Regions from separate parts of the Homo sapiens genome. Here region 2 is linked to region 1. Evidence: promoter capture Hi-C in 16 types of primary human blood cells and fetal thymus (Javierre and others, 2016). All regions are on one chromosome and are shown on one strand. Each heading gives the region's core, a stretch centred on a gene start or on the middle of the fragment in contact. The rest is flanking DNA. Distances are from core to core; before and after follow the strand shown. Region 1 holds the start of FYN (FYN proto-oncogene, Src family tyrosine kinase). Region 2 overlaps SLC60A2-DT (SLC60A2 divergent transcript).

Region 1 (5,149 bases), core at 1,269-3,768:
ACACTCATTAACCCTATTGCTTTTTTTATCGTAAAAAGTTCCACGATGAATGTTCTTAAAAAGTGTGTAAGTAAATATTTAATGAATCATAACTCTTTTCTAATAAAATTACTGAAGACTAAACCTACAGTTCTGTTACTTATAAAAATAGTCGAGGAGCCATACTTTTAGGAAAGAACAGGTTCAACTTAAGTTTTGACAATATCGATTAAGCATGTAATAGTCACTGGCTTACAAAACGGAACATTAAGCCCCCAGATTTACATTAACATTTCTTCCTTAAAGGGAACATCAAATGGTTTAGACTTCAGTCAAGATTCTCTACAGCCCCAGTTCATAGCCAAGTGGCCTCAAAGCCTCAGATAGTTAAACCACTTCCTCCAAAAGTCTGTGAGTCCCTTCATCTGAATACAGGGTACCCATGGAGCAGGGACTGGGGAAGAAGACAGTACATAGGGTGGAAAGTATTGCAGTTGCTTGGGTGGTGAGAAAGGAAGTAGGCGTCCCAAGACTACCTTGAAGCAGGCAAGAGGCAGTCTGCAGTGGTCTTCCAAATGCTAACTCTAGACCGTTTTATCCACGTCCCCAGGTATTTACTTCAATAAAAGGGTAAAACAACATCACTGGGCAGACAGGATTTCATTTCAAAAGACTTCAGTACAGTGCCCTCTTAGACTTGAGAGAAGAAGCCATTCAGGCTGCCTCCCTCTTATCAAATAACAATTTAATTCTGATTCAGAAACAAAATTCTTGTGACCCCCACACCAATCTACTCTACCCCAGCTCTTAGTACTTGTTCCCAAAAGGACAGGGGAAAGAACGAGGGGATGGGGAGGCTACCTTAAAAGTAAAGCAACTCTTAAGACTGCTGGGATAACTGTTCCCTTAAATCTAAGAAACACTGCAGCTGCCAGTCAACACTACCGGTCTCTGAACACAGCAAAATGCCGACACCTGCCACCCGGCATCCGGGGGTTCTTTTATTTTTTGGTAAATGTGGCAGGAAAGACTCAGAGAGATCAACTGCTTCATGGGAAAGAAAGGGAAGCCCCAGGGAAGAGAGACAAGAAGCATCGTGCCTATCCTAGGGTACTTTGTGTGTCTCCTCTCTATGCACTGAAAGGGCTCTTTGTGTCACACTCACACTCACACACCCGGCGAGTCTGTGTGATTTATTGGGGGAAGGAGGGGCAAGAAGGGTGATTTTATTATCCCTCTTCCCAGTGAGTCCCAGCACATCTCTGCTGGGCCCAAGCTCGGTGGCCTCCTTCTGGCCCAGTCCCCTCCGCCTGTGGCCGCAGAGATAACAGAGGGGAGGAGCCCAAACAAAAACAGCCATGGATCTAGGGAAGTAGAGAGGAAATCCAGCGAGGGAGCCGGAAAGGAAGGAGAAAAGAGCTGGAGGGAGCAGAGGGGTGGGGGACAGAGGAAGAGGAGGGAAGGCTCCAGCACAGGGGAAAGGGGAAGGGTGGGTGGGTGGTGGCACAGGAAGAGTGAAGGGGAGGATGGGGGAAGTGCAAGGGAGGTGCCAGAAATAGGCAGGAGGATGGGTTGGAGAAGGCGACCGCCGCCGAGGGAGGAGGCCGAGAGGTGGAGGAGTGGGGCAGGGGTTGGGTGGGGAGGGAAGCAGCACGGGGCATCAATTATTAAGTGATTACATCATCCCTGACATTAAAACAACACACACAGCCCCAGTCCCCGCGGGGGGCCCCAAAAGGAGGGCGGGGGCGGAGTCTGGGCCAGCCTCGCCCCCAAGCCAATTCCCATTTTCACCCGGCGCCCGCTTGCGGGCGAGGAAATGGGGTCCCCATCCCCGCGCTGCCTCGGGGCCGCACCCCGCAGGGGTGTCCTCCGGTGCAACCGCGGGAAGACCCCAAGCACCGACTCCCCGGCAGCCCCGCGGAGCGCCCTGGCGGCCAAGGGACCGCAGCACCGGGCCCTGCGGCGGGGGCGGCGTGCGCGGGGGCGCCGGCGGCCGGGCTTCTCCGCAGCATCCCCGAGGCCTCCCGCGACGCATCCCCGCCGCCTGCTTACCTGCGCGGCGCTGAGGCTCCGGAGCCCACTCACATGGTCCTCTCCCCGCCCTCCTCCGGCGCGGCCGAGGCGGCTCCGGGGGGTCCCCGGCGGGCCCGGGAGCCGGTGGGCCTTCCGAGAGCACCGAGGGGGCGGCGCCGGGGTGTCCCCGGCCCGGCGGCCGAATCCCTCCCTGGCGCGGGCGGCGGCCGCCGGGCGGTGCGGCGCGGGCGGCGGCTTTGTGTGCGCCCGGGCGGTCCTCGGTGCGCTGGGAGAAGCGCGGCGCGCCCGGGCGGGAGAGGACGCGCCGCTCGCACAACAACCTCGCCTCTACTCTCGCCGCCGGGCGGCGGGCGGGTCTCGAAGGCCTTCGGCTCGCGGCGACCCCTCCTCCTCGCCCGCGGCAGCCCCCTCCTCGCCGGCTCCGCTCCTGACAGATGGCGCAACTGCAACGACGCGCCGCCGCCACCAGCGCGGCTGCTCGCTGCTACTCTTGCTGATGCTCTGCCCCTCCAGCTCCGGAGGGGAGCGAGGAGGGGGCGGGGCGCGCCTCGAGAGTGACAGGCCCGGCTGCCCTATCAAAGAGCCCCTTGGGAGCTGCGAGCCGCAACCATTGGCGCCTGGGGCGTGGGCGGGACGGCAGTAGGTGGGGCCGCCGAGTGGGTTGAGCGTTACTGTGGCAGCGGGCATCCCAGGGTGCGTGCGGTGCAGGGTGTGCAAGAAAATGCGAGGTTGGAGGAGGAGGTCTGTGTGTTTTTAAGGATTGTGTGGAGTTGTGAGGTGGCGGAGTAGGGCGGGAGAAAGAGCGGAGAGTGTGAACTGCAGTTTCCGCTTTGCGGAAGGTTGCAGCTGCTGCTGCAGATTGGCACCTGCCATTCCCCCAAAACCATGGGAAACTGCCTCGAGACAGGGCTATCTTGCCTTTCTGGTGTCTTTTCATTTGAGGGTGAGAGGATGAAATGGAAAATTGGGCGGTGATAGCAGCGTTTTCTTTGATCAAACTGAAAAGAGTACGGAGCAAAGTAGAATCCTGTCCTGAAACGTGGAAACGCACAACAAATAACAATGAGGAGGAGAAGGAGATTAGGATCATTTTATCAGTCCCCTATTTCTGCGGACACTCATTTATATTTTTTTTCTAGCAAAAGTCTGGAGGAAGTATTACTGAAATAGGGGGAGGGGCCAAGCGGCGACTAAGGAACCTGAAATGACAGAGATTTGTTCGTACATTCCCCGCCCCACCCCCAAAAAACCTCGTTTAATTGTAGTCATTGGTTGTCTTTGGTTTCTCATAACATTCAAACTTCTCATGTTTTTTTCCCCTTCACTGAATCTGAGCTTTTGCTCATATTTCCCTTGATGAAATAATTGCCGGTTTAGTATACAGTTGGGAGTGCATCGGTCTTTATTTCCTATCCAGCTTTTCTATGGCAGGATGTAACTTCATAAAAAGAAACACTTTGGCTTCCTGATTTTCTTTATAGGTAATTCCTGTTTACTGAAAGTTCTGCTTTAAGGCATACTCAGAATCGCTCTCCTTAATGATTTTGGCAAGAACCCTACCTTCCCCCTCAGCAAATCTAATGTTCTAAGAAATTATAAGTGAATCAGCTTCTGCTTCTGTGCTCAAAATCTATAATATTGCCTTTCCGGCCCACTACTTGTTTTTACTGTAGTTTAAAAAAATCTGTCCCTTTTGCTGACTTTTTTCTTTTTGTACACACTACTTTTTAAGAAAAGTTGCTAACATTTATTAAATGATCTGCATCCTATGGAGGAGGAAACTGAGGAAAAGAAAAGTTAAGTAACTAACTCAAGGTGACAGTATACAGAGGTTACTGGATTTTTTTCCTTTTCCTTAAACAAAATGACAAATTAAACCATGTTTAAATTGTGTCTGGAAATTCCATAATCCCAAGAAATGGAACCATAGCTAGGACTAGGATATTTCCATACAAGAGAAAGCCAGCTTCATTTAGCCAAGAATTGCTTATCTCAAGAGCAGAGGCTCTTCGTCCTCAGGGCTAGTCCGCAATGGCTGCTCTGGGTTTATTTGGATTGGGATGCAGAGGCAGTTGGGTAGAGCAATGGTTCTCAAACTTTGACATGTATCAGAAATAACTGAAGGGGCTTGCTTAAACATGAATTGCTGTGTTTAACCACCTGAGGTTCTGATTTAGGGGGTTTGGGATGGTGCCCAAGAATTTGCACATTTAGCAAGTTCCCAGGTGATGTTGATACAGCCAATCTGGAGACAGCACCTTGAGGACCATAGTTCTAGAATTGGGCTGTCCGAGGAGGTAGCCACTAGCCACATGACTGTTAAGTACTTGAAATGTACTTCAGTATTGGAAATTTGGCTACTGCAAATTAGGATGTGCTGTAAATGTAAAAGATGTATTAGATATTTCAGATCAAGCATGAAAAATGGAATGTAAAGTATCCCATTTTAATATTGATTACATGTTAAAATGATAGTCTAAATGTACTGTGCTAAATAAAACATTATTAGAGTTAATTAAATTGTTTCTTTTATTTTTTAAATGCGTCTACTAGAAAATTTTAAATAACCTATGTGGCTCAAGTTATATCTCTATCGGGCAGCACTGGTCTGGAGTTGTTTCTGATTCCAGCTCCACAGTTCACTGTTGGGAGCGCTTTGATGAAGCAAGTCGCTTATCCTTTTTGAACCTTAGTGTCCTCATACGTAAAATGGGAAAAATAGTAAAACTGTTCTCAAACTATTCCGGACAGACTAAGTGTCATATGCTCTCAAGAAAAAAACACTCTTAGGCTATATATCTCCTTGAAATCTCATGTTTAGTTCAATCTATCTTACGCTAAATCTGGAAATCTGGAGTAGGTGGGATAAGTCCTCTCTCTCTCTCTCTCTCTCTCTCTCCCTCTCTCCTCCTCTCTCTCTGTTTCTTCACGAGAAGTCACTTCTTAGTGTCTGCAACTGTAATAGCTTCTTGATCTAATTAGTGGACAAAGAGACAATGTGATTAAAATGACAGATTAACCTGCTCCCATCAAGACTTCATCCTGTTTTTTGTAATTCTTTGCTTACCTACTTTTTTATCTGTTGCCCGTCTTAAATGTAGCTTTAAATGGATTTGGACTCCTCAGGAGGATT
Region 2 (5,149 bases), core at 1,417-3,916, 630 kb before region 1:
TTTGGGAGGCCAAGGCGGGAGGATCACGAGGTCAGGAGATCGAGACCACCCTGGCTAACACGGTGAAACCCCGTCTCTACTAAAAATACAAAAAATTAGCCAGGCGTGGTGGCGGGCGCCTGAAGTCCCAGCTACTTGGGAGGCTGAGGCAGGAGAATGGCCTGAACCCAGGAGGCGGAGCTTGCAGTGAGCCGAGATTGCACCATTGCACTCCAGCTGGGTAACAGAGCGAGACTCCGTCTCAAAAAAAAAAAAAAAAAAGGTACAATTGAGCTGGGTGTGGTGGCTCACACCTATAATCCCAGCACTTTGGGAGACCGGGGCAGGCAGATAGCTTGGGCCTAGGAGTTCAAGACCAGCCTGGGCAACACAGTAAAATCCTGTCTGTACAAAAGATACAAAAATTAGCCAGGTGTGGTGGTGTGCACCTGTTGTCCCAGCTACTAGGGAGGCTAAGGTGGGAGGATTGATTGAGCCTGGGAGGCAGAGGCTGCAGTGAGCCAAGGTCATGCAACTGCACTCCAGCCTGGGTGGCAGAGTGAAAACCTGTCTTAAAAAAAAAAATGGCCATTGAACAATGCAGGGGTTGGGGTCCCTACACTCCATGCAGTCGAAAATCCATGCATAATGTTTGACTCCCCCAAAACTTAACTCCTAATAGCCTGTTATTGACCAGAGCCTTACTGATAACATAAACAGTCAACTAACACATATTTTGTATATGTATCATATACTGTATTCTTAAGATAGAAAAAAGAAAATGTCATTAAGAAAACCTTTTTATGTTTTTGTTTTTAAGACGGTCTTGCTCTGTCACCCAGGATGCAGTGCAGTGGCTCAGTCATGGCTCACTGCAGCCTTGACCTCCTGGGCTCAAGCAATCCTCCCACCTCAGCCTCCAGAGAAGCTGAAACCACGGGCACGTGCCACCATGCCTGGCTATTTTTTTTTTTTTTTGGTAGAGATGGGAGATCTCACTATGTTACCTAGGCTAGTCTCGAACTCCTGGGCTCAAGCAATCCTCTTGCCTCGGCCTTCCAAAGTGCTGGGATTACAGATGTGAGCCACTGTGCCCAGCTATGAAAATCTTAAGAGAAAATGCATGTACAGTATTTTACTGTATTCATCAAACCAAGTTCACATTGTCTGTTTACAAGATGAATCATCTGTCTGAAATGGTCAGCGCCTGTGGCTGCAGACCTCAATCGAAGGTTCATATCAAGGAGTTCAGCTTTTTCTTGTGATATCATGACTTTTATCTGCTTCTTGAGTGCACTTCAGGCATCACTAATGGCACTTTGTATGGGTCCCATGGTGTTATTCAAGGTTTACAGTATTGCACTTGTCAACTGAAGAACGATGGAGGTTCATACATTTGGAAAGGAGAGCTTTCTTATAAAGGGTTGCAGCTTGCAGGGTGGCCATTCTGACAGGCTGGAAAGAACAGCCTCCAGCCAGAAGCCAAAAACAGACACTTTGACAGGGGGAAGAGTATGACAGAGATTTGCTGAAGCAGGTGGCCAAATATACATACTTAATAAGCTATAGGAGGAGTTATGATTATTTATGAAAGGAGAAACACACACATGCACAATAGAGCTTCATGCTTCTCCATGGGACCCATGTTCAAAAAGTGGCAGTGTTAGCACCCTCCATCCAAGGGTGGAGTTTTTGGCCCTCTGATTTCAAGTGGTGAAGCAGACAACACGAAAACCTCTCTGCTCATCCTTGGTAGACTGGCCAGAGCCACTCTGTGGACCCTGGTCTCTTATGAGGAAGGAAAGCTTTGTCCAAACTGCCAAATGGAAGGGCAGCGACAGGTGGTTGGTGGCTATCAGCAGTGGAGCAAGTCTCTCAGAAGGGCTGGCTTCTCTGTAACCCTTAAGGAAGAAAACCTAAGAGCAGTTAGAGCAGGAGCAGGTGTAATGAGGCCCCCATCTCGTCACAGCTGGAACTGAGTTTTGGCCGAGAAAGGAGTCTGTTTAGTTGGTTGGGGGGCTTAGGATTTCATTTTTCTCACACTAAACACACACAAAAAATGCAAGAACTGAGAGAAATTAGTTTTTACTTCAATGGAATTTACTGGAGAGATGAACTGGGCAAGTGGAGATGACCGACGAGCGTCACACAACGTTTTGGGTGGATACTCACAACACTGGAGCCCACCACGACAACAACGAGAGGCAGCTGCAAAATTATTCCAGCAGTACAGTGTGTACTACAGTGAGTTGTATGCAGTTATGATTTAATACTGCATCTTCACATTTGTTTCCATTTCTCTGGACTGCAAATGGCGCCATGTGTAGTCTGATGTTTGTGTGTGTAAATTTTGATACATTTTAACATTTTAATAATAGATTTGTGTATATTTTATGGTAGTAAATGATAAAAATAGACAAGTGTCTACATATTTTTATGCGTTGATGACATACCTAACATTTTCTTTTTTCCATATTTCTAGGCTATGTGATTTGTCTGCAAGTTTTTTATAATTGTTGCAAATATCCCCCCAAAATTTCCATATATTTATTGAAAAAAATTCACATATAAGTGGACTCATGCAGTTCAAATTTGTGCTGTTGAAGGGTCAACTGGATTTTTCCAGTTTTCTTGATACTAGTTACTACTCACTGAATAATTCATCTTCTCCTCCTTCCCCCACTCCAACAGTATATAATAGTTTTCTTCTATTTACAATGACAGAATTAACATATTTTTTCCTCCATCTCCCCCTCTCTATCACCTGATTTTAGTAATATTATCTTTCTTCATGTTTACCTCTAATTATTTTACCTCTGTATTATTCCATTTTATACTTATAACTCTACTATTCATTTAATTAGCTTTAAGTAATAACTTTTCACCTCTAGTTATTAAAGATGAGGAATCAGTATACTTTATTTCATATATATAATTTTTAATTGTTTAGAGATGGGGTCTTACTATTTTGCTCAGGCTAGTCTCAAATTCCTGAGCTCAAACAATCCTCCTGCCTCAGCCCCCCAAGTAGCTAGGATTACAGACACACACCATAGTATCCAGCAAACAAACAAAAAAATCAGTATATTTTCATCCTTTTCCATCCATTGCTTTCCACTTTTTATTGCTCTATCATTTCTACATCATCAGGGCTAATAACATTTAAATTCCATCTTTCCACCGTAATCCTCATATTTGTCTTTGTCCTGTGATTTGCATCAAAGCTCACTGCCAATCCCGTCTGCAGTTGTTTCTCCACTCATCTCTTGTTCTACTGAACCTTCTAACATTTCTCAAATGGATTTATGAAAATAATATTCCAAGAGTTCTTTCATCTTCAAACTATTTATCTTTTGTCTTTACACCTGAAAATATTTGGCTCATGTTTTCTTTCCTATGGGATTTTGTAGCCATTTCTCAAAAATCTTCCAGCATTGAAGTTTGCTATGGAAAAAGACAGAGGCTAGCCTTTGGATTACTTCCTTCACATCATGCCAAGGAAGCTCCAGCATTTCAACCTCATTAACTGTAGACCACCAGTGAGTCGAAATTTTTAGTCAACCAACCAAGTAAGCTTTTACAGCCATCTCCAGCTGCATGGACTGACACTTTGAACCTGCAGTCCCTAGTAAAGTGTATCCATAGCAGTGAATTCAGCTGGATCTAGTGTTCTATTCTGTTTTCCTTGGTTTAATACCTTTAGCATCCACTTCCACACATTCACCAGGTTTCCATTCATATATATTAACAAAATATTGCAGTTATTTTGGTGTTATTTCCTCCTGGATCATAGTGTGTACCTGCCCACCTGGAGATGTCAAGATTTGATCCTAGTTATGGGGCTAGTGGCAATAAAGGATGGTTATCATGGGTCTTGAAGAGAATGGGCATCCTCTTCCAAGGTGTCTGCCCCAAGTGACATTATCACAAGGTTTTCAAACAAAGACTAGTCTCTTCAGATACTGGAGAGCAAACAACTTTCATTGGTGAGGCTCTACTGCCTAGCAATTGCCATTCTTCATCCTATGCGTACAAATCCAAAAGAGCTTTGGTGCTTAAGAAGAAAAAAAAGTACCTCTGAATGTCTTATGATATATGAACTTTTATCAAGAAGTAACTTGGAAAAGAAGACTTTTATCTAGAATCCTCGTAGCATTTAGAGAGAATACCACTCTCTTCTGTTGCCCTGGCCATTTGAGCATTCTCAGCAAATAGTATTTTCTGAAAAGATGCTAAATGTATTAAACCTTTGAGTTTAATGATTTGAGTCTCAAATGATGCTAAAGGTATTAAACCTTTGATGCTAAAGGTATTAAACCTTTGAGGCAGATGCTTTTTATCTTGTGATTCTCAATTGAAGGAGCAGTTAAAAAAAAAAAAAAGATGAAGCCGGATGTGGTGGCTCATACCTGTAATCCCAGCACTTTGGGAGGCCAAGGCCAGTGGATCACGAGGTCAGCAGATCGAGACCATCCTAGCCAACATGGTGAAACCCCTTCTCTACAAAAAATAAAAAAATTAGCTGGGCGTGGTGGCGCGCACCTGCAGTCCCTGCTACTTGGAAGGCTGAGGCAGGAGAATCGCTTGAACCTAGGAGGTGGAGGTTTCAGGGAGCCAAGGTCGCACCACTGCACTCCAGCCTGTTGACAGAGCGAGACTCTGTCTTCAATAAATAAATAAAAAACATGAAGTCCTGCAGGCTGCAGGGGGTGCTTTGAAAATGTGTGAGGGTGTCATAGTAACTCTGCTATTAGCATTTAGTGGGCAGAGGCTCAACATGCTAGAGCTCCACATGTGTGGGATAGTCCCACATACTGTCCAATTTTTGAATGTCCTGCCAAATATTCATATGAAGGAAAAATATTTCTTTTTGATTATCTGAGCCCAGACTCTCTCTTGTACATATAGGCACCAAGTATTTTTAGCATAGTTTCAATAAATGAGTTTTCCAAGAAAGTAAAATATCATGTAACACAAGGGAAGGTTGCGTTTTGTTTTAGGTTCTCCATTTTGGAAAATCATCAAGGGCAATAACGTCACTCGTGGTATTTGAGTAGTTGATACTCACCTACTACAACTCAGTCTGTATGTATAACGTTGCACTTACAGTGATTGTTCTCTACCTATATTAATATATTTATTCAGTCCTTATTTCACTAATTATGAAGAA

Evidence for each region. The method cuts DNA at HindIII sites, captures the fragments that hold promoters and counts their contacts. A CHiCAGO score of 5 or more calls a contact.
Region 2: a contact is called between a fragment that was not itself captured here and the fragment with the promoter of FYN in region 1, in 1 of 17 cell types (neutrophils). The highest score is 6.2, in neutrophils.

The regions. Positions count from the first base shown.
Region 1 is chr6:111,870,934-111,876,082 of GRCh38, forward strand. It overlaps FYN (FYN proto-oncogene, Src family tyrosine kinase), which reads right to left and starts at 2,519. Exons shown (of 14, transcript NM_002037.5): 1 at 2,035-2,519. It overlaps LOC102724646 (a long non-coding RNA gene), which reads left to right and starts at 2,519. Exons shown (of 3, transcript NR_168402.1): 1 at 2,519-2,757; 2 at 5,118-5,149. RefSeq lists silencers at 1,639-2,038, 2,189-2,438, 2,559-2,648 and an enhancer at 2,091-2,590. The HindIII fragment of the contact is 15,284 bases long and covers 1-5,149 here.
Region 2 is chr6:111,241,480-111,246,628 of GRCh38, forward strand. The region is part of intron 1 of SLC60A2-DT (SLC60A2 divergent transcript); the gene reads right to left. Among named protein-coding and RNA genes, the nearest start is that of SLC60A2-DT, 15 kb to the right of the region's middle. The HindIII fragment of the contact is 1,769 bases long and covers 1,783-3,551 here.